7 separate regions of the Homo sapiens genome follow, and all the other regions are linked to region 4. The links are contacts of gene promoters, found by promoter capture Hi-C in blood cells and fetal thymus (Javierre and others, 2016). All regions are on one chromosome and are shown on one strand. The core of a region is centred on a gene start or on the middle of the fragment in contact, and the rest is flanking DNA. Distances in the headings are between cores, read along the strand shown. Region 1 holds the start of MSRB1 (methionine sulfoxide reductase B1). Region 2 holds the start of HS3ST6 (heparan sulfate-glucosamine 3-sulfotransferase 6). Region 3 holds the start of SYNGR3 (synaptogyrin 3). Region 4 overlaps AXIN1 (axin 1). Region 5 holds the start of LINC00254 (long intergenic non-protein coding RNA 254). Region 6 holds the start of TRAF7 (TNF receptor associated factor 7). Region 7 holds the start of TBL3 (transducin beta like 3).

The links. The method cuts DNA at HindIII sites, captures the fragments that hold promoters and counts their contacts. A CHiCAGO score of 5 or more calls a contact.
Region 1: the fragment with the promoter of MSRB1 here is called in contact with a fragment that was not itself captured in region 4 in 15 of 17 cell types (M1 macrophages, erythroblasts, naive B cells and 12 more); the score reaches 67.3 in M1 macrophages.
Region 2: the fragment with the promoter of HS3ST6 here is called in contact with a fragment that was not itself captured in region 4 in 8 of 17 cell types (M1 macrophages, naive CD8 T cells, erythroblasts and 5 more); the score reaches 29.9 in M1 macrophages.
Region 3: a contact is called between the fragment with the promoter of SYNGR3 here and a fragment that was not itself captured in region 4, in 12 of 17 cell types (naive CD8 T cells, total CD4 T cells, M1 macrophages and 9 more). The highest score is 33.8, in naive CD8 T cells.
Region 5: a contact is called between the fragment with the promoter of LINC00254 here and a fragment that was not itself captured in region 4, in 1 of 17 cell types (M1 macrophages). The highest score is 6.6, in M1 macrophages.
Region 6: the fragment with the promoter of TRAF7 here is called in contact with a fragment that was not itself captured in region 4 in 6 of 17 cell types (naive CD8 T cells, M1 macrophages, total CD8 T cells and 3 more); the score reaches 9.9 in naive CD8 T cells.
Region 7: the fragment with the promoter of TBL3 here is called in contact with a fragment that was not itself captured in region 4 in 14 of 17 cell types (naive CD8 T cells, erythroblasts, M1 macrophages and 11 more); the score reaches 60.2 in naive CD8 T cells.

Annotation. Positions count from the first base shown.
Region 1 is chr16:1,941,713-1,945,280 of GRCh38, forward strand. It overlaps MSRB1 (methionine sulfoxide reductase B1), which reads right to left and starts at 1,487. Exons shown (of 4, transcript NM_016332.4): 1 at 1,390-1,487. The coding sequence starts at 1,444. It overlaps RPL3L (ribosomal protein L3 like), which reads right to left. Exons shown (of 10, transcript NM_005061.3): 10 at 2,262-3,181. The coding sequence ends at 3,125. LOC124903625 (a long non-coding RNA gene) reads left to right here and starts at 1,082. Exons shown (of 2, transcript XR_007064940.1): 1 at 1,082-1,169; 2 at 1,273-2,921. RefSeq lists an enhancer at 1-276 and a silencer at 1,461-1,960. The HindIII fragment of the contact is 19,007 bases long and covers 1-3,568 here.
Region 2 is chr16:1,917,064-1,920,757 of GRCh38, forward strand. HS3ST6 (heparan sulfate-glucosamine 3-sulfotransferase 6) reads right to left here and starts at 1,352. Exons shown (of 2, transcript NM_001009606.4): 1 at 848-1,352. The coding sequence starts at 1,260. RefSeq lists enhancers at 1,445-2,006, 2,007-2,570, 2,571-3,132, 3,133-3,694. The HindIII fragment of the contact is 9,727 bases long and covers 173-3,694 here.
Region 3 is chr16:1,987,892-1,991,286 of GRCh38, forward strand. It overlaps SYNGR3 (synaptogyrin 3), which reads left to right and starts at 2,079. Exons shown (of 4, transcript NM_004209.6): 1 at 2,079-2,310. The coding sequence starts at 2,212. RefSeq lists an enhancer at 1,037-1,616 and silencers at 2,209-2,298, 2,379-2,498. The HindIII fragment of the contact is 15,217 bases long and covers 601-3,395 here.
Region 4 is chr16:339,737-343,442 of GRCh38, forward strand. All of the region lies in intron 2 of AXIN1 (axin 1), which reads right to left. Among named protein-coding and RNA genes, the nearest start is that of AXIN1, 11 kb to the right of the region's middle. RefSeq lists enhancers at 1-446, 1,729-2,280. The HindIII fragment of the contact is 169 bases long and covers 2,204-2,372 here.
Region 5 is chr16:1,882,652-1,886,395 of GRCh38, forward strand. It overlaps LINC00254 (long intergenic non-protein coding RNA 254), which reads right to left and starts at 1,580. Exons shown (of 3, transcript NR_033914.1): 1 at 1,446-1,580; 2 at 545-645. The HindIII fragment of the contact is 12,471 bases long and covers 1-3,744 here.
Region 6 is chr16:2,153,672-2,157,096 of GRCh38, forward strand. TRAF7 (TNF receptor associated factor 7) reads left to right here and starts at 2,111. Exons shown (of 21, transcript NM_032271.3): 1 at 2,111-2,187. SNHG19 (small nucleolar RNA host gene 19) reads right to left here and starts at 1,687. Exons shown (of 2, transcript NR_132114.1): 1 at 1,472-1,687; 2 at 1,111-1,251. SNORD60 (small nucleolar RNA, C/D box 60) reads right to left here and starts at 1,434; the gene lies at 1,352-1,434. It overlaps RAB26 (RAB26, member RAS oncogene family), which reads left to right. Exons shown (of 9, transcript NM_014353.5): 9 at 1-494. RefSeq lists enhancers at 1,476-1,675, 2,546-2,645, 2,656-2,795, 2,719-3,300, 3,301-3,425 and a silencer at 2,156-2,245. The HindIII fragment of the contact is 6,190 bases long and covers 1,708-3,425 here.
Region 7 is chr16:1,970,323-1,973,688 of GRCh38, forward strand. TBL3 (transducin beta like 3) reads left to right here and starts at 1,731. Exons shown (of 22, transcript NM_006453.3): 1 at 1,731-1,883. The coding sequence starts at 1,843. RefSeq lists enhancers at 1,517-1,856, 1,917-2,056. The HindIII fragment of the contact is 11,738 bases long and covers 1-3,366 here.

The sequences.
Region 1 (3,568 bases), core at 237-2,736, 1.6 Mb after region 4:
TGAAGGAACCTGGGTAGTCCAATGAGGACACGGAGCTCCCCCTCGCCCCCCTAGTTCCCCCAGGAACATAGAGGGCAGGGGCCCTGATGTGGCCCAACCACCTGGTCCCTCTCCTTTCTCAAGTGGTCCTCCCTGCTGCCCAACGAGGCCCTAAGCTGGATACCCAGGCACTGCTCTGCTCTCCAGGCAGGAAGAGAACAGTCCCAGAGAAAAGGCCTCCAGGCCACACAGGAGCCCAGGAAGAAAGAGGGCTGGGGACAACAGATTTCAGCCTACCCACAAAGGATCCCTTTGGAGTGGAGGGGGTGGGAAAGTTGCAAAACTGACTTGCAGAACTGTTTTAAGGACTGAAAACAGGAACCTCCAGGGGTGCTGAGTCACCTCTCACCCATCACCTGGGGACAGCCTCCCCTGGAGACTGTAAACTACCCAGCCTTTTCCAGGAACTGGAGAAAAAAGCAAAGAGAAGCCAGCAGCTGCTGTGGAAGTGGAGTTTCTGGCTTGGCAGAGCAGCCTGAGGACAACTGGGATCTAAAGCCAGAGAGTCTTGCTGGGGGAGGCTTTGCCGGGATGGTCCTGTGTCACAGCCCAACCCGCTACAGGGGTGCCACCCAGCAGATCCGCCCAAGGAGACCAGTGCACTCAGACTTGCCTGTGGATGTGTTTTTACCAAATTAGTCCACTACCAGGCGAGCCCAGCCCAGAAGGGATTCATCAGGGCCAGTGTGGAGGGCTGGCCATGCCCCAAACCACCCCATCCTGCCTGCCTGGTCAAACTTCACGGGCTGTTGGCAGGTGCCTGGTGGCACTCCTGGTTCCCCAATTTGGAGTCCCTGGGCAGGTGGGGAGGCACCTGGGCCGGCACATTAGGATCTGAAGGGGACATTCTATGCTTGCCAGACTCCTCCCAGAGATCCCGGACTCGGGGGAATGGGAAGGGCCAGGGTAACACCTGCGGGATGACCCGCGAAGGGGCGCCCCGGCCACAGGAGCTGGCCCTGGACAAGAACCTGGCCTCTCCGAAGCCCCGACCCTAACCCGAATTCCCCCAGCGCCATCACTTTGGAGTGTAGGGGGTAGGGAAGGGGTACCACCCCCACGTATCCCGATCCCTTAGACCCACCCCCGAAACGGCACGTTCACACTCGAGGCCTGCCCCCTCCAGGACGGTGAGCCCCAAGGCCCCCTCTCCTCGGGTACCCCACTCTCCTCGCCCCCAGGCTCCCCACTCCTCCGCAGTCCTTTTGACCCCTGTTCGCTTCTCCCCGGCAGCCACATTCGCCCCCATTCCCGGCTTGGGAGAGACATCACCCCCGGACGACGGCGGCGCCCCCGCTAATGCGCGCCCCCCGCCGCGCTGCCCTCCCAGCGAGAGGCCGCAGGACCAACCAGGTTCAAAGTGATTCTGGAAAACCTCGCCCCCGAAGAAGCTGCAGAACGACATGGCGCCACCGGAACCGCAGCGCGCTTGCCGCTGCCAACTGACCAAAGGCTGCCGACCCGACGACCGCCGGTACCCGCGTCCACCTCCCCGCCCCTCCCGAGGACCAATCGCTCCCCGGAGGGCGAATCCCGGCTTCCGCCTCCGGGAGGCCCCGCCCCTCCTCAGGGCTGGTCCAATACGATCTTCCCAGCTGGCCCCGCCCACGTTGACTCCTTGGGACCACTCCTGGGCCACTTCCCCAAGGCCCCGCCCCCCGGTGCCAGTCCAATCGCATCTCCCCAGCAGGCCCCGCCCATGGAAACTCCCAGGGACCACCCCTAGGCCGCTTCCCCAAGGCCCCGCCCCTGCCGCCCCTCGCGCCCTGGTGGCTAGGGGCGCACATGGGGCCTGGCCAGGTGGGCGACGGCGCGAATCCGTAGGGTCGTGTCCCCCCAGTCCAGTCCCTGGTACTAAGCCCGGAGCTGCCGGAGGTCATGCAGCCTTTCCGCGCCCAGGTGAAACCGCCTTTGCAAAATGATGACTGAAACAGTGAAAGAGATCTAACTCAGCCGACTCTATCTTGCTTCTAACCTCCAAGCTGTCCTTATTCATCCCTGCTGGTAGGTTGAAATAACTTTGGGAGAAACTCAGTTTATAGTTTTTTGTTTTTTTCTTTCTTTCTTTCTTTCTTTTGAGACGGAGTCTTACTCTGTTTCCAGGCTGGAGTGCAGTAGCGCGATCTCAGCTCACTGCAACCTCCAACTCGCTGGTTCAAGCAATTCTCCTGCCTCAGCCTCCCGAGTAGATGGGATTACAATCATGCGCCACCACGCCCAGCTAATTTTGTATTTTTAATAGAGACGAGGTTTCTCGATGTTGGCCAGGCTGGTCTTGAACTCCCGACCTCAGGTGATCCGCCCATCTTGGCCTCCCAAAGTGCTGGGATTACAGGCGTGAGCCACCGCGCCCAGCCAGTTTATAGTTTAAAACAAAGACAGTAACAGCCCTTTCCCAAAGCAGACCACCTCCTTGCCTGGGGACTAGATTGCATTTTTAGGACTAACATTAGCCACAATATTGGGAATTATGGTTTAGGAGTCGTGCATCTGGAGGCTACAAGATTCTGACCCTCCCTAAGCTGCCCCTAAGATCAGTGCTTGAGATATTTTGCCGACCCTGCAACTTGATGGATCTGCTGGCACCAACCAGATTGATAAACTGGCTCATCTGATCTTGTGGCCACCACCCAGGAGCTGACTCAGCGCAAGAAGACAGCTGACTCCCTGTGATTTCCTCCCTGACCAATCGGCTCTCCTGGCTCACTGGCTCTCCCCACCCGCCAAGTTATCCTTAAAAACTCTGCTCCCCGGCACTCCAGCAGCCTGGGCGACAAGATCAAGACTCTCTCAAAAAAAAAAAAAAAAAAAACCTCTGCTCCGCAAATGCTCAAAGAGATCGATTTGAGTAATAATAAAACATAAAACTCCGGTCTCCCGCACAGCCAGCTCTGTGTGAATTACTCTTTCTCTATTGCAATTCCCCTGTCTTAATGAATCGGCTTTGTCTAGGCAGCAGGCAAGGTGAACCCCTTGGGCGGTTACACAGCGCTCTGAGACCTCGCAGGAAGAGTCGCCTCCGGCCTTTGTTAGACATTGGGGCAGACAGTGCGGTGCGCTTCAGGGTTCATCCACCCCACACAGCCTACAAGTCTCCCGAGGTCTCCGGCGTTTCCTTCTCCAGATGCTTCTTTTGGGGGCCCTGGTTGAGAGGGTGGTGCAGGAGGAGCCTTAGTCACTCTGGCCAGAAACACGCCCTCCCCCAGCCAGGCTCTAGATCACTCAGGGCCGGCCCTACTGCCCCCCTAAGGCTGCTTCCTCCCCCACCTTCTCTTCTAAAGAATCAGTGCCCAGGGATAGACCCTTAAGAGTCTCTCCTGCAGGCCGGGCACGGTGGCTCATGTCTGTAATCCCAGCACTTTGGGAGGCCGAGGCGGTCGGATCATGAGGTCAGGAGATAGAGACCATCCTGGCTAATACGATGAAACCCCATCCCTACTAAAAATACAGAAAATTAGCCTGGCGTGGTGGCACGTGCCTGTAGTACCAACGACTGGGTAGGCTGAATCTGGAGAATTGCTTGAACCCA
Region 2 (3,694 bases), core at 102-2,601, 1.6 Mb after region 4:
TTTTAGTACAAAAGGCAAAGTTAACAAATAGGGGTAGGCGTCAGGGAAGGAAGAGGATCAGAGGATCGGGAACGGAGAAACTGGAGCACCTGGAGAAGCGTCTGGGTCCTGCCACCCCCACTGACTCCCCAACTGGCCTTGGGCAGGGTCCTCTCTGCAGGCGCTGGGTCCAAGCTTGGGGATGAGCAGCCACCAGCGCGGGCTGCTTCAGCTGAGGCTGCCGCACCCCCACGTCCATCCTGGGTAGAGGCAGGACAGCCACAGAGCCCCATGCACGGGGCTGGACTCACCCTGGGCACTCACCTAAAGGCAGTCTCCTCCTTTCCAAAGCCCAGACTTTCTCCGGACTCCCAGGACCACCAACAAGGGTTCCTGTGCGCAGACTCGGGGGTCTTGGGGAGGAAGGACGCTTTCTAGGTGGCTGCCTGGAACCTGGAGGCCCCTTTCTACAGTACCTGGCCAGCGGTCGGTCACACCTGAGTGCCCAGAGTGAGCGGGCGGCAGAGGCATTTCTGACGCTGCCAGGTAATCCCACGGGCTGGAAACGACCTCTGGGCTGGGAAGCCACCGCCTCCCCCAGTCCTGCTGGGTCCCTCAGCAGAGAGAACGGAACCGGGGCTTTCCCCACAGTTTTCAAAGTTTCAGGGAATCCTAGCCAAGTATCATTCCTTCTTCCGGAGCCGGGACCCCAGGTCAAGCCTGGGGCCCCCACAGGGCGGTCCCAACCCCACTGCCCGGAGCGCACCCCTGCTCCCTGGGAGGCAGGATATCGTGCCGCTGCTCCCTGGGGCGCACGATACCCTCCCCAGGAAGGCGCCGGTCAGGGCGGACGGGCCAGGGTGCTCACCGGTACCAGGCGAGGCCGCGCTCGTAGCACCTGTCGAAGAAGTGGGGCTCAGAGCCCAGCGCGCGGACGTCGGGGTGCAGCCGCAGAAACTCCAGCAGGGCGCGCGTGCCGCCCTTCTTCACGCCAACGATGAGCGCTTGCGGGAAGCGCCGGCGGCCGGGACCGCTGGCCAAAGGCAGGCCGGGTGCTCCCGGGCGGTGGACGGAGCTGGACGGCTCGGAGGGCGCGGGGGCCGGCGCGGGGGCGCGGGCGGCCGGCGGGCAGCGGCCGGGGAGGGCGCAGAGGCAGTAGGCGCCGAGCACCAGGGCCACGAGCAGCATCGGCGCGCGGGACGCCCGCAGAGCGGCCCCTTGCCCGGCCCCTGCGCCCTGGCCGCCCCCGGCCCCGCCGCCCAGGCCGCCGCTACCTGCCATGGGGTCGCGCCGCTCCAGGCCCGGGAGCGGGGGCAGCAGGCGGGCGCGCATCTCGGCCCGCGCGCCGCTCAGTCCGTGGGTGCCCGGCTTGTGCTCTGCGCCCGGCGGTCCCGCAGCCTGGGAGCGGGCGCGGGGCGGGACCGGGGGCGGGGTCTGGACGCCCTCCCCCCTCCCCCTCCCCCGCCCACTCCGCCTCCGAGGCCACTGCCTGGGCTGGACCCGCCGGCAGCCGCCACCACCCGGGCGCGACTCGAGCTGCCGGGACCACCAGGACGCTCCTGCTCCGAGATCCCAGGCCCTGGCTCGCTTGACTCCGGCATCTTCACCTCTGCGCGGGGAGGATGCGGCGGCGGTGGCCGTTCGGGACGCAGGGCAGGGACAGGGCGGCGCGCGGGCCTCGGGACCCTCTGTTTGAAGACCGATCCCCTTCCCCCCCCACCCCACTCCGGGACGTGCGCGGCAGGTGCATAGGCCAAGCCTTGGCCTGCAGGAGCGGGAGCCTCATCGCCAGGCCAAGGGGACCCAGGAAAAGCGTCGATCCGGGCACTCGGCCTGCCAAGGGAGAAAGAGGCCGGGACAGCACCCTAGTGTGCAGAGAGGGATCCCAGAACGTGTGGGGGGAGTCTGCGGCCGGGAATGGCGTGCGTCCTGCACTCCCAGCTGACAGTCACACATCGGGTCACAGCCTGGCCGCTGAGAGGTCAAGTCACCTCTGGTTACTGTTTTAGAATGGAGGGGACAGGCTCAGAGAAAATAGGTTTCCCTCCCAGGGGCCCAGTGGTGAACTGAATTCAGGCCTGAGACATACTCTGTCTACTAAGTCACCCCATCTGCCCAGCCTTGGTCCACCTGGCACTGCCCAGAGACATCAGTGATGCATTTCGGAAGCTGGCAAAGTGGACCCCACTGGAGTACAAAGGACTCAGGGACCCCTGTGCTGGGGAAGAGAAGGAGCCCAGGACCTCCCCCAGGGGCTGCCTCTGAGGGGCGTGAGATTCAGGGGCCTCTCGGGTGGGACCTGCGGGGGCCGCTAGACACTGCGGGAACTTCACATCCCCAACGCCCAGCAGCAGCCTGCAGGGAAGGCAGGGGAGGCGAGCCGGGCTCAGAGAGGGCGAGCAACTTGCCCCATCCGAAGGCAAAGGTGGTATGAGACCCGGGTCCTCTCTCCACCTCTGCCCCAGCCTTCCTGGCCACAGGGCTGGCGCCAGGCAGGCACGGCACAGGCTCCCGGCAGAGGCCCAGCCTCTTCCCAGCCAAGGGCTTGCGGCCCCTGTCCTGGGCTCTGCTGCGTTAATGAGCCGTTCCAGCCCTGATGGCATCTGGACAAGTCCCAGCAGCCGGGCTGCCTCAAGGGGCCGAAGGCCTCCACGACCCACAGACATTCCGGAGCTCCTACCCAGCAGCAGCCCTGGCCAGAGGGGGCCACACGGGGCTGACGGGGTGAAGACCACTGACCAGTCCCCCAGCCCCGGCTCCAGACATGCGGGCTGCACCTGCTCATCTGGGCAAGCCTCTGCAGGAGCCCCGTGGGCAGGCAGCGGGCACAATGCGAGGAGAGCATGCTGGCTTATGCTGGGTCACAGGAAATTCTTCTTCTGGTCTAGCTTGAAACGGTATTGTTCCCAACGGGCTGGCTCGGGGTGGGGGCTGGGGTCCCACCCTGCAGCATCCACCCCACAGTCTCAGCAGTCCCCACGGTCTCAGGAGTCCTCACGGTCTCAGGAGTCCCCACGGTCTCAGCATCCCCATGGTCTCAGCTGTCCCCAGGGTCTCAGGAGTCCCCACGGTCTCAGCCGTCCCCATGGTCTCAGCCGTCCCCAGGGTCTCAGGAGTCCCCACGGTCTCAGCCGTCCCCACGGTCTCAGCAGTCCCCACGGTCTCAGGAGCCCCCACGGTCTCAGCCATCCCCACGGTCTCAGGAGTCCCCACGGTCTCAGCAGTCCCCACGGTCTCAGGAGCCCCCACGGTCTCAGCCATCCCCACGGTCTCAGGAGTCCCCACGGTCTCAGCCGTCCCCACGGTCTGAGTCCCCACGGTCTCAGCTGTTCCCACGGTCTCAGGAGTCCCCACAGGTTCAGCAGTCCCCACGGTCTCAGCCATCCCCACGGTCTCAGCCGTCCCCACAGTCTCAGCCATCCCCACGGTCTCAGCAGTCCCTACTCAGGACTTGAAATTCCAGCACTGGTTCCGTGATGGCTCCTCCAGCCCCCTGCCCAGCCCAGCATGGTCATTTCCATCTCCTGGCCTTTCCGCTGCCGTCTCTCTGCTGGATGCTTTATCCTTAGTCCCCGCTGAGGGCAGAAGGACTTTCCAGGAGGAATTGACCAGAACGCAGAACAGCAGGATGTGGAATGGACTGGGGACAGGGAGAGAGAGATGCAGGGACCAGGAGTCGGCTCGGAGGGTTCTCCTGGAAGCTGACCCCTCCCTC
Region 3 (3,395 bases), core at 829-3,328, 1.6 Mb after region 4:
GAGCAGCTGGGATCACAGGCGCCCACCACCACCCCCTGCTAATTTTTGTATTTTTAGTAGAGACAGGGTTTCACTGTGTTGGCCAGGCTGGTCTTGAACTCCTGACCTCATGAACCACCCACCTCAGCTTCCCAAGGTGCTGAGATTACAAGCGTGAGCCACTGCGCCAGGCCAGAGTCTGTTTTTGAAGGCATCCAGGCCAGTGGAACTCTAGTGCAAGGAAAAGTTCTGGCTTGAGCTGGTGTTCCAGAGCTGTTGACACGCAGACCAAAGGAGTTAGCACAGAGGGAGAGACCTCCCCAGGATCGCGCCCTGGGCTCCTAAGGCTCACAGGTCACAGAGGAAGGACCCATGAGGGAGGAGGACCTCCAGGAGGGGCATAGTGGCTCACGCCTGTAATCCCAGCACTTTGGGAAACCAAGGTGGGCAGATCACTTGAAGTCAGGAGTTCGAGACCAGCCTGGTCAACATGGCGAAACCCCGTCTCTACTAAAAATACAAAAAAAAAAAAAAAAAAAATTAGCTGGGTGCGGTGGCACACCTGGAATCCCAGCTACTCCAGTGGCTGAGGTAGGAGAATCACTTGAGCCCCTGAGGCAAAGCTTGCAGTGAGCCAAGATTGCGCCACTGCACTCCAGCCTGGGTAACAGAGTGCGACTGTAACTCAAAAAATAAATAAATAACTAAAGAAATAAATGAGTCGACAGCAGCATCAGACTTGCCCTTGGGATTGGCACGGAGAGGTCAGTGGCAACCTTGAGTTTAGGTGGCGGTGGGAGCTGATTCTGCCGGGTCAGAGGGAGAGAGAGGAGGGTGTTGCAGGCAGAGTTTGCTGCTAAAGGAAGCAGTAACGTAAGGCAGCTGGAGGGGAGGTGGGGTCAACAGTGTTTGGCTTTTAGGAGAAAGTGCAGCATGTCTGGGTGCTGATGTTAGTGATGAAGTAGAGAATGAATGACACAGAGGGGAGGTCTGTGGCCAACAGGTGAGAGGGGTTGTGATCGGACGCACAGTGTGATGGACTTGGAACACAGTGAGTAGCGCCTCTGGCAACACCTGCTCTGCCCACCTGTGCCCAGCAAGGCTGAAGAATGAGCTCCAGGGGGGCTGGGCCACGCAGCACCATCTGTGCACCCGGCTCGTGTAGCAGGGACCTGGGTTGCTTATTATCTGAAGTACAGGGTGGTAACAGTCTCCGCCACTACACAGGTCAAGCGCTTGGCGCTGTAAATGTCAGTGCAGACATCTCAGTGCTCTAGACAGAAACCTAGGAGTCATCTGAACTTCCAGCCTGCTAGGAACATGAGGAGAGGGACCTTGTTGCACCCAAGGCTGGGGTCTGTGGAGGGGACTCAGCGGGACACAGGGCAGCCAGGCACCACCCCCACCCGACTCCTAGTCTCTGATGCCGCTCCCTGCCCTCCATTCCAGACTAGGCGCCGCAAGTACGCTGGGGAGACCCAGGAGTAGGGAGGGCATTGGGAGCACCACCACCTGGCCACGGGCAAGGAGCGGAGACACCGAAACCAACACTCCCAGCGGCGCTGGCCACGGTGGCTCTGTCCCCTCCCTCAACAGGTGCTCCTGGGGCCAACGCCTTTCTTCCCACCAGATCCTCCCCGCCAGAGGCTAGAAGCTGTGATAGCAGCTAGAGCACAGTGGGGGGCCATGAGAAAGACCCCAGTTATCCATCTGGTCTTCTTGGGACCAGGGCCAGGGAGCCGGTCCCCTCTCCCGTGGGTTGGGGGAAGATGCTGCAGCCCGTGGACCTCCTACCCCTTTACTCCCTCACCCAAGTGCCCTTCCCAGAGGAGCGGACTCCTCCTGTCTGTCCTCCCGGCTCTAGCAAAGTCTGCGCCCAGCACCCGAGCCCCACCCTGCCCCCGGGGACCTGGCTGGTGGGTTCCTGAGGATGGTCTCCATCTCGGGACCGGGGCAGGCAGGTGAGGGTGGGGGATGGGAGGTGGGCGCGGCGGAGGGAGAGGAGGGACCCGGCCCCGCGCGCATGGACCCAGTGGGGGGCGCGGGCGCGGCCCCGCCCCGTCCCGCGCGTCCCCGCCGCGGCCGGCGCGCGCTCCCGGGAGGCGGCAGCGGCTGCAGCGTTGGTAGCATCAGCATCAGCATCAGCGGCAGCGGCAGCGGCCTCGGGCGGGGCCGGCCGGACGGACAGGCGGACAGAAGGCGCCAGGGGCGCGCGTCCCGCCCGGGCCGGCCATGGAGGGCGCCTCCTTCGGCGCGGGCCGCGCAGGGGCCGCCCTGGACCCCGTGAGCTTTGCGCGGCGGCCCCAGACCCTGCTCCGGGTCGCGTCCTGGGTGAGTGGTCCCTGCCCGGGCCCCCGCTCCCGCCCCTGCCTCGCGACCTTCAGGCCCCTACCAGCCCCCTGCCCCCTACCCCCTGCCCCCTGCTTCTCGCCCCCCGACCTCACTCACTCTCATCCTCGCCGGCCCCTCCCCCGCCGGCCTCAGGTTGGGGTGACGTCACCGGGCAGGGCGCGCCCACCTGCGGGCGGAGGAGGGGCCGGCGGCGCCGGAGAGGGACCTTGAGAGGTCACCGCCGGTCGCCTCTACCCCTACCTCCTCCCCGGGTCTAATTTCAGTCCCTTTCCGCAGCCCTTACTCCGTTTTTCCTGTTCTCGTGACCTGGAAGCAGGGACGGGGTGGGGACGGAATTCTCCGAGGGGCAGGAGGGGGCTACGGGAACCGAGAAGCGCCTCCCCTTCCCCCGCACACACACCCTCGGGTCTCCTTGGCAGGGAGCCTGTCCCCTGGCCCCCAGTTCCAGCTGTGAGTTGAGGGAGGAGAGGCTCTGGGCTGGGAGGGCTTCCTGGCGGCGGTGTGGAAGGCAGGTTTGGGAGCAGCCTAGCCCACTGGGGCGTCCCTGGGAGGGCCCTGCTGCTCCTTCCCTCCGGCAGGGGAGGTGGCAGTTGGGTGCCGAGCTCTGGGTTTTGTCCAGGTGGCAACCTCTGGGCCAGCCGCACCTCGGCGCCTGTCTTGGAGGAGGGCGGTGCCCACGGTGGGGCAGGGGCTTTGGCCTCCCCTGCGGAGTGGCTCTGACCAGACCGGGAGGCAGGACGCTGCGTTTTGGTCCGAGCGCACGTCCCGACTTGTGGCCCACTCTTGGGGACAAGTGCATGTCCCGGCTTCCCCCTTGGCTCCACTCTCGGAGCTGGAGCGGGAAAGGAGCGAAGGGATGAGGTTGAGGCTGGAGGTCGTTTCTTGGAAACACAGGGCTGCCCCGTGCAGCGCTGGTTAAAATGACTGCGGTCCCCCTCATGCCTGTCTCCCGGAACTGGTGGGCAGGAGGCATTGAGGTTTGACGGAACCTCAGAGGTCAACGGTGTCATCTTTTCAGCCCAAACACTTACAGGTGATATTAATAATCAGTCACGTGGGGGCTG
Region 4 (3,706 bases), core at 1,038-3,537:
GGAGACTAGAAACCCCCCACACCCAGGCAAGGGGAGCCCACGCAAGGGGCAGTATGGCTCACAAGCACCTCTGCCCCCTCTGCACCACAGCAGAGGTCCCCTTAACAAGACAAGCCTGGGGGCGACCCCACCCTGGGCCACACCCTTTGCACAGGAAGCAGAGTTCACCCTTGCAACACAGCCCCTCTGCAGCCGGGCACCTTCAACAGCACCACCGCCTGAGGTCCAACGGACATGGAAACCCAAAACCACTCCTCCACAGACAACTCTGTACACATTTTGGGCCCTTTCTTTTTCTTCTTCTTCTTCTTCTTTTTTTTTTTAACCATTTCTTCTCTTAACCTTTTAGGCCATTACCAGAAACACAGTCAATAAACTAATGAGCAGGTCCGACGGTTCCTCACGCACCCCTGCGGGAACCTGAACGGCAAGGGCTGGCTGCCCACCTCGAAAGGACCCACCGGTCCTCTGAGCAGCTCCAGGAACCAGCAGCCCAAGACAAGCCACCATGTTGCTCCTGCTGTGGACATGTCTGTTGTCCACTCTCTGGCCACAGCCACATTGACCAGCCCTATCCACAAGTGCATCACTGGACTGGCCCGGGAAGACACACGAAAATATCCAGGAAGACCCTGTCCCCAGTCATCAAGGAAGGTCAGGGCAGTCAACAGAAGGGGCCAGCGGCGAGGAGACTGCGGGCTTGACCAAGCGGACCTGGCAGGGGCATGCAAGGCCAGCCCTGAAGGCCACCTGGTGGGCCAAGCCACCCTGAAGGGAAGCAGAGCCTGAGCCCGCCAGCCAGGGAGTGCAGGCCCTGGGCCTCCCGCCCAACACTCAGTCAACAGCAGAACCTGCCTGCTGATCCACACCGCTGAAATGACGAGGTGAACCAGCCAGCTCTGTTCAAAGTTCCACTGACAATGGGAACAAAGACCCGAGGGTGCAGAAAGTGTTCCCACAGAGGCAGAGCGGGGGAGCCAGGGAGGAACCCCATGAAACCTTGGCCCAGGAGCTCAAAATGACAGTGGGTGAGTGGGACAAACACAGAAAAGGGCCAGGAATGGAGCTCTTTCCTAGGCTGAGACAAAGACCTAAGCAGAACACTTCACTTTCCTCAAATCAAGTATGTGAAACCACCACGCGGCTCACACACGGACCAACAAGGACCCGCACTCAGGCGTCCCACAGGGGAACTGGATGCCTGTGGCCGTGCTGGACCGCAGCAGCCCCACCGCAGGGGATGAGCGACTGTGGCAGAGATGCAGGCAAAGTAGCCTCCAGGACAGAGGGGTCAGCACCCGAGGGCTGGCCCTCCTGGCACGTTCCTCCACGCAAATTCCACCCCGGTGAGAGGTGACAGCGTGCTGGCAGTCCTCACAGCCCTCGCTCGCTCTCAGCGCCTCCTCTGCCTGGGCTCTCACTTTGGTGGCACTTGAGGAGCCCTTCAGCCCACCACTGCACTGTGGGAGCCCCTTTCTGGGCTGGCCAAGGCCGGAGCCGGCTCCCTCAGCTTGCGGGGAGGTGTGGAGGGAGAGGCGCGAGCGGGAACCGCGGCTGCATGCGCTTGCAGGCCAGCTGGAGTCCCGGGTGGGCGTGGGCTTGGTGGGCCCGGCACTCAGAGCAGCCGGCCAGCCCTGCCGGCCGCGGGCAATGAGGGGCTTAGCACCCGGGCCAGCGGCTGCGGAGGGTGTGCTGGGTCCCCCGGCAGTGCCGGCCCACCGGAGCTGCGCTCAATTTCTCGCTGGGTCTTAACTGCCTTCCTGCAGGGCAGGGCTCGGGAGCTGCAGCCCGCCATGCCTAAGCCCCCCACCCCCTCCGTGGGCTCCTGTGCGGACCGAGTCTCCCCGACGAGCGCCCGGTCCCATTGACCACCCAAGGGCTGAGGAGTGCGGGCGCACGGCACGGGACTGGCAGGCAGCTCCACCTGCAACCCCGGTGCGGGATCCACTGGGTGAAGCCAGCTGGGCTCCTGATTCTGGTGGGGACGTGGAGAACCTTTATGTCTAGCTCAGGGACTGTAAATACACCAATCGGCACTCTGTATCTAGCACAAGGTTTGTAAACACACCAATCAGCACTCTGTGTCTAGCTCAGGGTTTGTGAATGCACCAATCGACACTCTGTATCTAGCTACTCTGGTGGGGACTTGGAGAACCTTTGTGTGGACACTCTGTATCTAGCTAATCTGGTGAGGATGTGGAGAAGCTTTGTGTCTAGCTCAGGGATTGTAAACGCACCAATCAGCGCCCTGTCAAAACAGACCACTGGACTCTACCAATCAGCAGGATGTGGGTGGGGCCAGATAAGAGAATAAAAGCTGGCTGCGGGAGCCAGCAGTGGTAACTCGCTCGGGTCCCCTTCCATAGTGTGGAAGCTTTGTTCTTTCTCTCTTTCCAGTAAGTCTTGCTGCTGCTCACTCTTTGGGTCCACACTGCCTTTATGAGCTGTAACACTCACCGCGAAGATCTGCAGCTTCACTCCTGAAGCCAGTGAGACCACGAACCCACCAGAAGGAAGAAACTCCGAACACCTCCGAACGTCAGAAGGAACAAACTCCGGACAGGCCGCCTTTAGGAACTGTAACACTCACGGCAAGGGTCCGCGGCTTCATTCTTGAAGTCAGTGAGACCAAGAACCCACCAATTCCGGACACACCGGGACGACTAACCGGCTCTCCACAGGATATGCATCCCCTAACACGTGAGGCCTAAGCTCCAGGCCCTGCTGTGGTAGCAATGCTCACCAGCCGCCTGTTCAGTACCCACTCTCCTTTTCCCTTTGCATTACCCGCAGCCTTCCTTTGGAGGACTGCCCCCAGCTCCCCACTGGGGAGCAGCCGTCTGTCTGGGTGGAGAACCCACTTTCCTTCAGGAGTGACCCTGCTGCACAGCCCCCAGCGCACGCACCGTGACTGTGCTGAGACAGACGGGACACAGCGGCACACGTGCCCTCCTCAGAGCAACAGCGGGCCCATCCGTCAGAGCTGCGGGAAGCATCTGTAAACAAGGGAGCCCAGAGCCCAAGGTCACTGCAGCAGCCACCTCCAACACAAAGCCCACGAAGTCGCCCACCAGGCAGGCAAAGTCAGAATGGCACAAAGCAAAGGTGCCAGGCCCTAAGGCACACCTGAGGCTCTGCCTCAACAGTGCCCTTCAGGGTTGGGCTCAGGTGGGTGGGTTTCCACGACTTCCAACCTAGTGCACCCTCACCTACACCTGGCAGGACAAAGAGAATGGTCTAAATGTGAGGAACGCAGCCTGGACTTCATGCCCTGTCTGTGCTGACAAGCAACCATTCCAACATCAGAGATCTTCAAGCCACAAGGCTGCACCACAGGCCACCTCCCACAGAGAGGATTCAACCGCAGACACGACTCCCAAGCCCCAGGGTCCTCTGCCACCAGCAGCCCCAGAGCAGTCAAGTTAGGACCCAAACTGTGTAGACAGAGCTACACAAAATTAGACAGGAGAAGCCAATGTATCCCACTAATTTCATAGCAAAGGTTCCTTATTACAAATACAGCAAACCAAGGACAGACAGCAAAGCTACTGCTCGCAGCCAAGAACTGAAGAGTGGCTGGGAGGGAGGCACTGGGGTTCCAACAGTGGAAATCAGAACGGAGCTCATTTTCCTCCTGCAGCCCAGCCCTCAACTTCAGTCCCATCTTAAAAATAACCAGCCGGGGCCGGGCGCAGTGGCTCACACC
Region 5 (3,744 bases), core at 330-2,829, 1.5 Mb after region 4:
GTCACCCAGGCTGGAGTACAGTGGCGCGATCTCGGCTCACTGCAACCTCCACCTCCGGGGTTCAAGCGATTCTCCTGCCTCAACCTCCCGAGTAGCTGGGATTACAGGTACATACCACCACGCCCGGCTAATTTTTTGTATTTTTAGTATAGACGGGATTTTACCATGTTGGCCAGCCTGGTCTCGACCTCCTGACCTCAGGTGATCCACCCGCCTCGGTCTCCCAAAGTGCTGGGATGACAGGCGTGAGCCACCGCGCCCGACTGGCCTAAACCATTTTTAAGGGCGTAAGTCAGTGCCACTATGTACATTAATAAGGTTGTATCACCATCATCATTGTCTATTTCCAGAATGTTTCCATCATCCCAAATAGAATTCAATCTTTAATACTCAAATATTTTAAAATTAAAATAAAGAACACTGAGACGAAGATAAACTAAATCCAGCTGGGCAACTTTTTCTTCTGAATAGGCAGACTCTCACTATCATATCAAACTTATATTCGTGGACATATATTCGTGTTGCAAACTCTGGAAGCACTCACCGAAGCAGATAAAGGCTTTTCAGAGGTTAATGGCCTGTGATGAGTCTTGCAACTAGACCGTGAATCCATCATTCCTGATTCTCACTCCTAATGACATTTTACTGGGTTGTCCAATGAGTTAATAAATGAAAAATTATATTAAAACTTATAAATGCAACATGTACCCTCTATCAGTATTTCCCATCATAAAATAATACTTTAAAAGTGAATTTGAGCCAGCTGCAGTGGCTCACACCTGTAATCCCAGCACTTTGGGAGACCGAGGTGGGTGGATCACCTGAGATCAGGAGTTGGAGATCAGCCTGGCCAACATGGTGAAACCCCATCTCTACTAAAAATACAAAAAATTAGCTGGGCATGGCGGCGCATGCCTGTAATCCCAGCTACTCAGGAGGGTGAGGCAGGAGAATCGCTTGAACCCGGGAGGTGGAGGTTACAGTGAGCCAAGATCAAGCCATTGCACTCCAGCCTGGGCAACAAGAGCAAAACTCCATCTCAAGAAAAAAGAAAAACAAGGTGAATTTGGGCTGAATGCGGCGGCTCATGCCTGTAATCCCAGCACTTTGGAAAGCCAAGGAGGGAGGATCAGTTGAGCCCAGGAGCTTGAGTTCCACCTGGGCAACAGAGTGAGACCCCGTCTCTATAAAAAAAATGCAAAAATTAGCCTGGTGTGATGGAGCTTGTCTGTAGTCCCAGCTACTCAGGAGGCTGAGGTAGGAGGATCGCTTGAGCCCAGGAGGTCGAGGCTACAGTTAGCTGAAATTGCGCCACTGCACTCCAGCCTGGGCAACACAATGAGATCCTGTCTCAAAAAAAAAAAAAAAAAAGAAACTGAATTTATATGGAATCACTGTTGTGACATTTTAACATCTTTTCTCTATAGTTATTGTACAAAGAATACCTTTTTTTTCAAAAAAATTTTCAAGAAAAAAATACTTTCAGGTTTTTCCACGGACTTACAAATATGAGACCGCTACAACAAATGTATCTAGCCTAGCAAAACATGAATGAAACGTTGTATGCAGTCTCTTTTTCTATTAGTCAGTGGCTGAAAGCCTTTGAAACAACCTGATGGGCGGTTGGTATTGTGTAAGACGGTGACCTAAAAACAGCCTGTCAGTTCCCTGCCATCCCATTTTTCAACAGCAGGGTGTGATCATAATGGGCTTTATTGACATCATAAATCTGAGAGCATGGATGGTATCCATTTCCAGTTGTTTAATTGAAGAAACGAAAGATCTTGTAATGTGGAGTTGATATGGAGAGTTTGTCGAGCTACAGTAAAATTTTGCAAGAGCTGTGACCTTGGGTCAGAAAATGACTGATCAAGACGGAACCTTTTGTCATACTGTGGAAGCGACTGTATTGACTTATTTTATTCTTAGCGCTAATGCCAACAGAGAGCACGAATTGCTTCTGACTGCTTTCTGTCTCAACCCAGAGTGACTCTGTGGGCAAATCAATACAAGTATCGTCTAAATAAGCTATGACTAAATAATAAAATATGATAAACTTTTATTATTTATTTTGAGACAGAGTTTCGCGCTTGTGGCCCAGGCTGGATTGCAATGGCACGATCTCTGCTCACTGCAACTTCTGCCTCCCGGGTTCAAGCGATTTTCCTGCCTCAGCCTCCCGAGTAGCTGGGATTCCAGCCATGTGCTACCACGCCCGGCTAATTTTTGTTTTTTCAGTAGAGATGGAATTTCGCCATGTTGGCCATGCTGGTCTTGAACTCCTGGTCTCAAGTGATCCTGGCCTGAGCTTTTCAAAGTGCTAGGATTACAGGCATGAGCCACTGCACCCGGCCTGTTTTCCATCTTCTTAATGTGATGGGTTCTCATAAGGGTGAACAGGTGGGCGTGAGCAACCTGGACCCATACAGGTGAAGCCACAGCAAATCATAGACGGTCCCTGGGTTTCATGGGTTTGGGAACAGCAAATCGCAGACAGTCCCTGGCTTTCCTGGGTTTGGGAACTTTATTTAGGATGTTTGACACAGTTGAGTGTAAAAGAATGATACATTTTCTCACAACTTGTAAGATTTGAGAAGTGCTGAAAGCCCTAGAGAGGAGAAAGAGAATGGTGGTGTCTATTAAAATGCAGTGTGAGATCATCTATGATTCATTTACATAAGATTTAAAAATAAGCAGAACAAATACATAGCTTTACAAGGTCCAGTCGTGGTTACTCTTGCTGAGGAGGGGTAGGCAGAGGAAGGGGAGTGAGGGGGGTTCTGGGGTGCTGGTTACCTTCTGTTCCTTGGTCTGAGCAATGGTAAATGGTCACCTTTGTGAAAATTCATTGAGTTGTACACTGATGGCTTGGGCACTTCTATGTGTATAATATTCAATACATTTTTTGAAAATGTAAAAATGGGCCAGACACAGTGGTTCACACCTGTAATCCCAGCACTTTGGGAGGTGGAAGCGGATGGATTGCTTGAGCTCAGGAGTTTGAGACTAGCCTGGGCAACATGGTGAAATCCCATCTCTACAAAAAATAGCCAGGGGTGGTGGCTCACCTGTAGTCCCAGCTACTTGGGAGCCTGAGGTGGGACAATCACCTGAGCCCAGGGAAGTTGAGGCTGCAGTGAGCTGTGATTGTGCCGCTGCACTCCAGCCTGGGTGACAGAGCGAGACCTTGTCTCAAAAAAAAAAAAAAAAAAAAAGGGCTGGGCACGGTGGCGGCTCGTGCCTGTCATCGCAGCACTTTGGGAGGCTGAGCCGGGTGGATCACCTGAGATCAGGAGTTTGAGACCAGCCTGGCCAACATGGAGAAACCCCGTCTCTACTAAAAATACAATATTAGCCAGGAGTTGTGGTGCATGGTGCTCACACCTGTAATCCCAGCTACCCGGAGGCTGAGGCAGGAGAATTGCTTGAACCCAGGAGGCAGAGGTTGTGGTGAGCCGAGATCGTGCCATTGCACTCCACTGGGCAACAAGAGCAAAACTCCGTCTCAAAAAAAAAAAAAAAAAAAAAGTAAAAATGTAGTATAGAAGAATCTTTGTCAGTCCTTTACAGAAAGTTGATATGAGAATTGTCTAATAGAATTTTAAAAATAGATGTTATTTTTTAGAAGAGTTTTAGATTTATAGAAAAATTGAGAAGCTAGTTCAGGGAGTTTCTATATGCCCTATGCCCAGTTTCCCCTATTATTAACATATTAGTGTGGGCCAGGCACAGTGGCTCACGCCT
Region 6 (3,425 bases), core at 861-3,360, 1.8 Mb after region 4:
GGACAGACTTTGCCACGGTGCTCTGCTGCCCCCTCCTGGGCACGTCCAGGTGAGGGAGGGCTGGGGCTGGCACCACGCACAGTGCCTAACCCTAGAAAAGCCATGTCTTCAGCCGCACATGCTCAGGCAGCTAAGGGAGGACGCCTGCCCACGCCTGGGACAGAAGGCTTCACTGCTAATCACATCGTGCATCTGTGTGTCCTGGGAGCTGCCTGCTCCCGGCCCACCCTCTAGGAGGCTCTGGCTCAAACAGCAATAGGGTCTTCCTCACTGACCTTGGAGGATGCCTGTGGCCTTGTGATAAAATGTGGGAAATCACAGAAAACACCAGAAACAACAACTGCCAGCCCGGCCTGGCCACAGGTGAGGTCTGTGATTTCCGAGCACGCTCCACCTTGCACTCAACTTGGCCTTTTGATTGCACAAGCCTTTGTTTTCAGTCCTAGTGAATAAAGTTGTGTTTTCTGGAGCGTCTGTCTCATCTGTTGAAAAAAATCCACTTCTAGAGCAGGATGCTGGAGTTTGAGAGACTCAGCAAGGCCCAGAACCCTCAGCAGGTGTGTGGCTACCATTCCTCCATGGCCCATGGCTGCCTCCCTAAGGAGGCACATGGGAACCCTAGGTGGTGTCAACTTCCCTCCACAAATCTCAAAAGCCTTTTTGGACTCACCCTGGGGCAAAAGGCATGAAAAACAGTATTTGACTGGGCGTGGTGGCTCACACCTGTGATCCCAGCACTTTGGGAGGCTGAGGTGGGCAGATCACCTGAGGTCAGGAGTTTGAGACCAGCCTAACACGGAGAAACCCCGTCTCTACTAAAAATACAAAATTAGCCGGGCGTGGTGGTGGGCGCCTGTAATTCCAGCCATTTGGGAGGCTCAGGCAGGAAAATCGCTTGAGGTGGAGGTTGTGCCATCGCACTCCCGCCTGGGAAACGAGCAAAACTCCGTCTCAAAAAAAAAAAAAAAAAATCACGGGCAGAAATGGAGAAGGCAATCCCAAGAGATGAAAAGTCACTGGTAACGAGCTTCCGTTTTCATGTCTGTACCCTTTTCCAAGATTGCCTGTGGATCAGCCAGACCTCTGGGGTGCCAGAATAGGAAAATAAAGACACTTGAGAGAAAACCGAATCAACTCACTACCTTTCTTTATTGCTAAGCACTTCAATAGACACAGCGCCCACCTTACCGCTAGGCCCTCCGGATTGAGGTTTACTTAGGTTCAAAACTTGCAGCCGGCTCGCGACGAAACCTGAAAGTCAGCGCCAAAATACAGACATTAAGTCCCCACTCCTTCGTTTCGGGCAACACCTGTTTCCACTCTCAGCTCCCCGTCAGGAGTGCGCACCCTCAAGCCTCAGTCTTGCTAAATAATCAGACTGCACGTGCAGTTTTCATACGAGGTGTCAGAAGTCAAAGCAATTCATCACAGACTGGGAGAATAAGGGAACCCAAGCCCGGCCCAGTCTTACCTGCAGGTAGCTGAGGGCCTGAGATTCGGGAAGAAACCTTTAAACGCTAAGGGACAAAGTGGTGCGTAGGCCAGGCCTGGACGCCCAGGGACCTGGCCGGCCTGCAGCGTTCGGACGGCCCTCAAAGCCACGCTCGTGGCTCAGTTCGTCCCAAGATCGTAGCACATGGCGAACGTATTAACAAACCTCTTCCCCCTCGGACTCGACCCCGAAAAGACAGGGGCGGGCGAGGCTCAAGCTTTTATAGAAACTGTCCCACCTCTGTCATTGGGCTATCCTGGCGGAAGTGCCCGCCTTCCCCCGCCGCTGGTACGCTCCGCTCCCTGCCGCGTTGTTTCCACCAATCGTACCGTGGCATTTCTTTTGGAGACGGTCTCTCAGACCCAGACCCGAAGCTCCTCCCTTATGCAGAGTCCGTGAAGCCTAACGGTGAGTGACGGATGAACAAAGCCAATCAGACTTCGATCTGCAACATAGAGTGATTCTGAAGCTGCCATTCCCGCCCCGCGACGACGAGGCCGCCGGAAGTCGTAGTTTCGGAAGTGCGGCGCGTGAGGCAGCCGTCCGGGCCCGGAGAGGCGGGGAACTACACGTCCCGGCGGGCGCAGCGGCCTGGCGCTTCCGGCTCGCGCGTCTAGTCCCTTTCCCGGCCGGCGGCCGAGGGGGCATCATGAAGCGGGCTGGCGGCGCTGCCGCTCCCGGGCGGCCGCGGGCGGGTGAGTGTCCCCGCGGCGCGCCCGACCCGGGGCTCGCGCCTCGGGACCGCGCGGTGGGGCGGGATCGGGCGCGTGGAGATCGAGGCGAGGCGAGGCGAGGCGAGGGGTCGGGCCGGGGCGGGGAGGGGGGGGCGGGGCTGAGACGGTCGGGGTCGGGGTCAGGGTCGGGGTCCGCGTCGCTGTCCGTCCGCCAGTCAGTAGTCCGTCCCTCGCTCCGTCCTGTTCTCGCGCAGTTCTTTACTCATTCCTTCTTCCTGCATTCCCCGAGACTCCCGGGTGCCAGGCACTGTTCTGGGCGCCGGGAGACCGCGGAGAACACGGTCCCAGTTCTCCTGTGCTCGGCGTCTGCTGCAGGGTTCCCCAACCTCCGCACCATCGACCACGCGGCCCGGGTCGCTTTTTGCTGCGAGGAGCTGCCCTGTACATTGTAGGATGTGGAACAGCTTGCCTGGCTCCTGGCCGCTAGATACCAGTAAACACCACCCCTTCCTCAATTGCGATAACAAATGTCTCCATGCATTGGCAAATGCCTCCTGCGGAACAACTCCCCCCATCCCCCATCTAGACAGACAGGGTGGTGGGATTGACAATAGGTAGTTAAAATCATGGGGAGCAGCGGTATGTGCTGTGAAAGAAAGAAAGAGGGTGCTGAAAAAGTGAGTACTGGCCGGGGGTAGGGGCGGCGCTACCGTTAGCCAAAGGCCTGTTGGAGAAGCAGCCAGTCCCAGGACATGCAGGAGGAGCATTCCAAGTAGAAAGAGCCAGATGTACATAGGCCTGGGGTGAGAAGGGGCCTGACGCACCCCAGCAAGCACTGGCAAGTGGAGAGGTGAAGTCGATGAGGCCGGACCAGGCTCACAGGGTGCATGGTGGGGTGGGGCGGGGGGGTTATTATGCTGGCAAATGACTTGGGGTTGAGGAAGCGCTGGAGAGGCGGTCCGATCTAGGTCCAGTAAAGAGCTTTCTAACTGTGTGTGGACCACAGACTTCAGAGTTCACTGGGGAAGCAGGAGAGAGGGAGGCTAGGCCATCGTCTCCTAGTCCCCACTGGGGTCCTGCTGTCAAGATACGGTTGTCTTGAGCCAGGCCAGAGTGGTCAGCTGGGGTTGAGTCTGGAGTCCAGGGGCAGGGGCCTGCTGGAGCCCACCCTGCTCTTGGGGGTGAGGGGCTGCTGGCTTGCTCAGGAATTTCATGCCGCCCAGCCTGTCTGCCCACCTTTCTCACTACCCCTCAGACCC
Region 7 (3,366 bases), core at 481-2,980, 1.6 Mb after region 4:
AGAGATTTTCCCTGATCATACTTCTCAGTTCTCCTTCTCAGTTACTTTCGTTTTTTCATTTTTTTCTTTTCTATTTTTTGAGATAGGGTCTCTGTTGCCCAGGCTGGAGTGCAGAGGCCCAATCACAGCTCACTAGAAACTCAGCTTCCCAGGCTCAAGCAGCCCTCTCACCTCAGCCTCCAGAGTAGCTGGGACTACAGGCACACCACCACCCCTACTAAATTTTCTGTGTGTGTGTGTGTGTATGTGGAGACAGGGTCTCGCCATGATGCCCAGACTGGCCCAGTTACTTTTTTTTTTTTCTCTGAGACAGTCTTGCTCTATCGCCCAGGCTGGAGTGCAGTGACGTTGCGATCTTGGCTCACTGCAACCTCCGCCTCCGGGTTCAAGCGATTCTCCTACCTCAGCCTCCCGAGTAGCTGGGATTACAGGCACCCGCCACCACACCAGGCTAATTTTTGTATTTTTAGCAGAGACTGGGTTTCACCATGCTGGCCAGGCTGGTCTCGAACTCCTGACCTCGTGATCCACCGGCCTCGGCCACCCAAAGTGCTAGGATTACAGGCGTGAGCCATCGCGCCCGGCCTGGCTGTTACTTTCTACCAGCTTCAGAGCCAGTAGCACAAATGGCTCAAAACCTTGAACTCAGAGTAAAAGCTAACTCCTCGCCACGGCGCACAGGCAACTGCATGCCCTCTGCCCTCTGCACCCACTCCCTGCAGCCACCCGGCTTGTTGCTACTCAATGCTTGGCACCCCCAGTCCTAGGCCTGTGCCCTGGCTGTTCTCAACACCATTCGTTCCACAGGGCTCCCTGCTTCGCGAACTTGTGTCTGCTCAGGCGTCACCTTCTCAATACAGCCTCCTCCTTCCTCCCTTCCGCTCCCTCCCTTCTGTTTTTTTTTCTTTCTTTCTTTCTTTTTTTCTGAGACGGAGTCTCACGCTGTCACCCAGGCTGGAGTCCAGTGGCGCAATCTCAGCTCACTGCAGCCTCCGCCTCCGGGGTTCAAGCGATTCTCCTGCCTCAGCCTCCCAAGTAGCTGGGATTACAGGCATGTGCCACCACGCCCAGCTAATTTTTTTTTTCTGTTTTTAGTAGAGACGGGGTTTCTCCACGTTGGTCAGGCTGGTCTCGAACTTCCGACCTCAGGTGATCCACCCGCCTCGGCCTCCCAAAGTGCTGGGACTACTGGCGTGAGCCAACGCGCCCGGCCCTCCTCCTTTTTCCATCGCGCTCAGCAACTATCACTCGTCGCCCGTTCTGTTTCTTCTCTGGTGTCCGCCAAGTGCCGATTACAGTGCTTTGCACACAGAAGGTGCTCAATACATGAATGCCTTTGAGATTACCCGGTTTATTCATTTACCTACGTTATTTATCAAGAGCCACACTGCGAGCCCAGGGGCAGGGTCAGGTTGACGGCTCTACGCACGGACCGCACCCGACAGCTGGTACCCCCACATCCCAGAACGCCGAAAAGCAGGAGTAAACGCTGGCTACAAATGCCTTTTTATACTGGTATCAAAGAGCCAGGCCACCAGCGATGCCACATCCGCCGGTCTACCCCCACCGACCCGCGAAGCACCCTCACAGCTCACGGCCCTCCCTCCAGGCCGGAAACGTCTCCGCCCGCTTCCGCTTCCCGATGCAGCCGCCACTGCCCGAAGCAAAGATGGCGCCAAGTGCGCGGCGCCGGCGGGGACGTCACAGTGGTCGCGCGCGGTGACGCCATCGCAGCGCGCCGGGAGTGTGGCGTTCTGTGAAGAGTTCGGTGCTAACCTCCCTCACGCGGCGGTGGCTGCCGGGACCCTAGCAGGTTTCAGCTGGAGCGGCGGCGGCGGCAACATGGCAGAGACCGCGGCCGGAGTGGGCCGCTTCAAGACCAAGTGAGCCCGGAGCTCTGGGGCCGTGCGGGGAGGGAGCTGGGTTTGCAGCCGGCATAGCGGAGGCGCGCGTGGGGTGGGCACGCATTGGGGTCCGTGGAGGCGAGAGGCTGTGTGTGCGCCGGCCCGCGGGGTCGCGGAGGCTGCGGTGATACTAGGCGGGAGAGCCGGCCCCGGCTGCTCTCGGGGAGGACGGCGATCGGAGCCCGGCCGCCGGGAGCAGCAGCGTGGGCTCATCGAGAAGCCGGCTATGGGGTGGAGTGGGGACCAGAAGTCCCGATGAGGGGAGGAGAGGGCTGAGCCTAGGTCGGGGCTGGTCCCGGGAGGCGGCGGGGGCGAAGAACCACCTCTGAGCAGTCGGCCTGGGGACCTTTCATCCGCGATCCGTCTTCTCCAGGGAGCAGGGAGAATGCAGGAGAGGGGCGGGTCCGCAGAAGCCCAGGAGGCCCTGAGTGCTGTGCCCCGTCACTCCCCAAGCCTTTGCCGAACAGCAGTGCTGGTGCCCCCGCCCTGGCAGCGCAGCCTCATGGGATTATCGTTTCCACTGGCGGCTGTGGGGCTTTGGTTGTGCCAAGCACTGGTAAAGGAAAGTCCCAGGCTGGCAGCACCGTCGTGGGAGGGTCAACTGGGTGCGGGGGCTGAGGGGCCGCTTTCGTTTTGGCAGTCAGGCTTCCAGAAGCGCAGTGAGCCAGGCCTTGACATCTGGGAAGAGAAGCCCAGGCCGCGTACAGGGAATAGGGGGAAGATAGGAAACCCGTCCCAGAGGCTGGGACAGGAGCAGTGGGGTGCACTGTGGGCCATGAGAAGGAAAGAAAGCAGAGGCAAGGGTGGCAGAGGCTCTTCTGGGCAAGGTCTGGGAGGTGTGTGGGCAGAAGGGAGGGGCTAACGCAGGGCAGTGACATCTTCAGTTATGTTCTGAAAGGTACCTGGCAGCAGGGTTAAGAGGTAGGTAGGGGAGGCCGGGCGCGGTGGCTCACGCCTGTAATCCCAGCGCTTTTGGAGGCCGAAGCGGGCGGATCACGAGGTCAGGAGATTGAGACCACGGTGAAACCCCGTCTCTACTAAAAATACAAAAAATTAGCTGGGCGCAGTGGCGGGCACCTGTAGTCCCAGCTACTCGGAGAGGCTGAGGCAGGAGAATGGCGTGAACCCGGGAGGTGGAGCTTGCAGTGAGCTGAGATCGTGCCACTGCACTCCAGCCTGGGCTGGAGACCCCTTCTCAGATCGAGACCCCTTCTCAAAAAATAAATAAGTAAAAAGAGGTAGGTAGGGGGTCCAGTGAAGAGGCCAGAGTGGCTGGCCAGAGACTGTGATGGGCTGGACCAGGTGGAGGCAGTGGAGAAGGAAGGAGAAGGGGCACGAGTGAGGTCACAGAAATGACAGCTGCTCGTGGGACCCGGGCTCTGGGCAAGCCTGGGGATGGAGAGAGGAGTCAGGGAGGGGAAGAGGTATGCCAGACCTCAGGGATGAAGACACTGGGAGGATG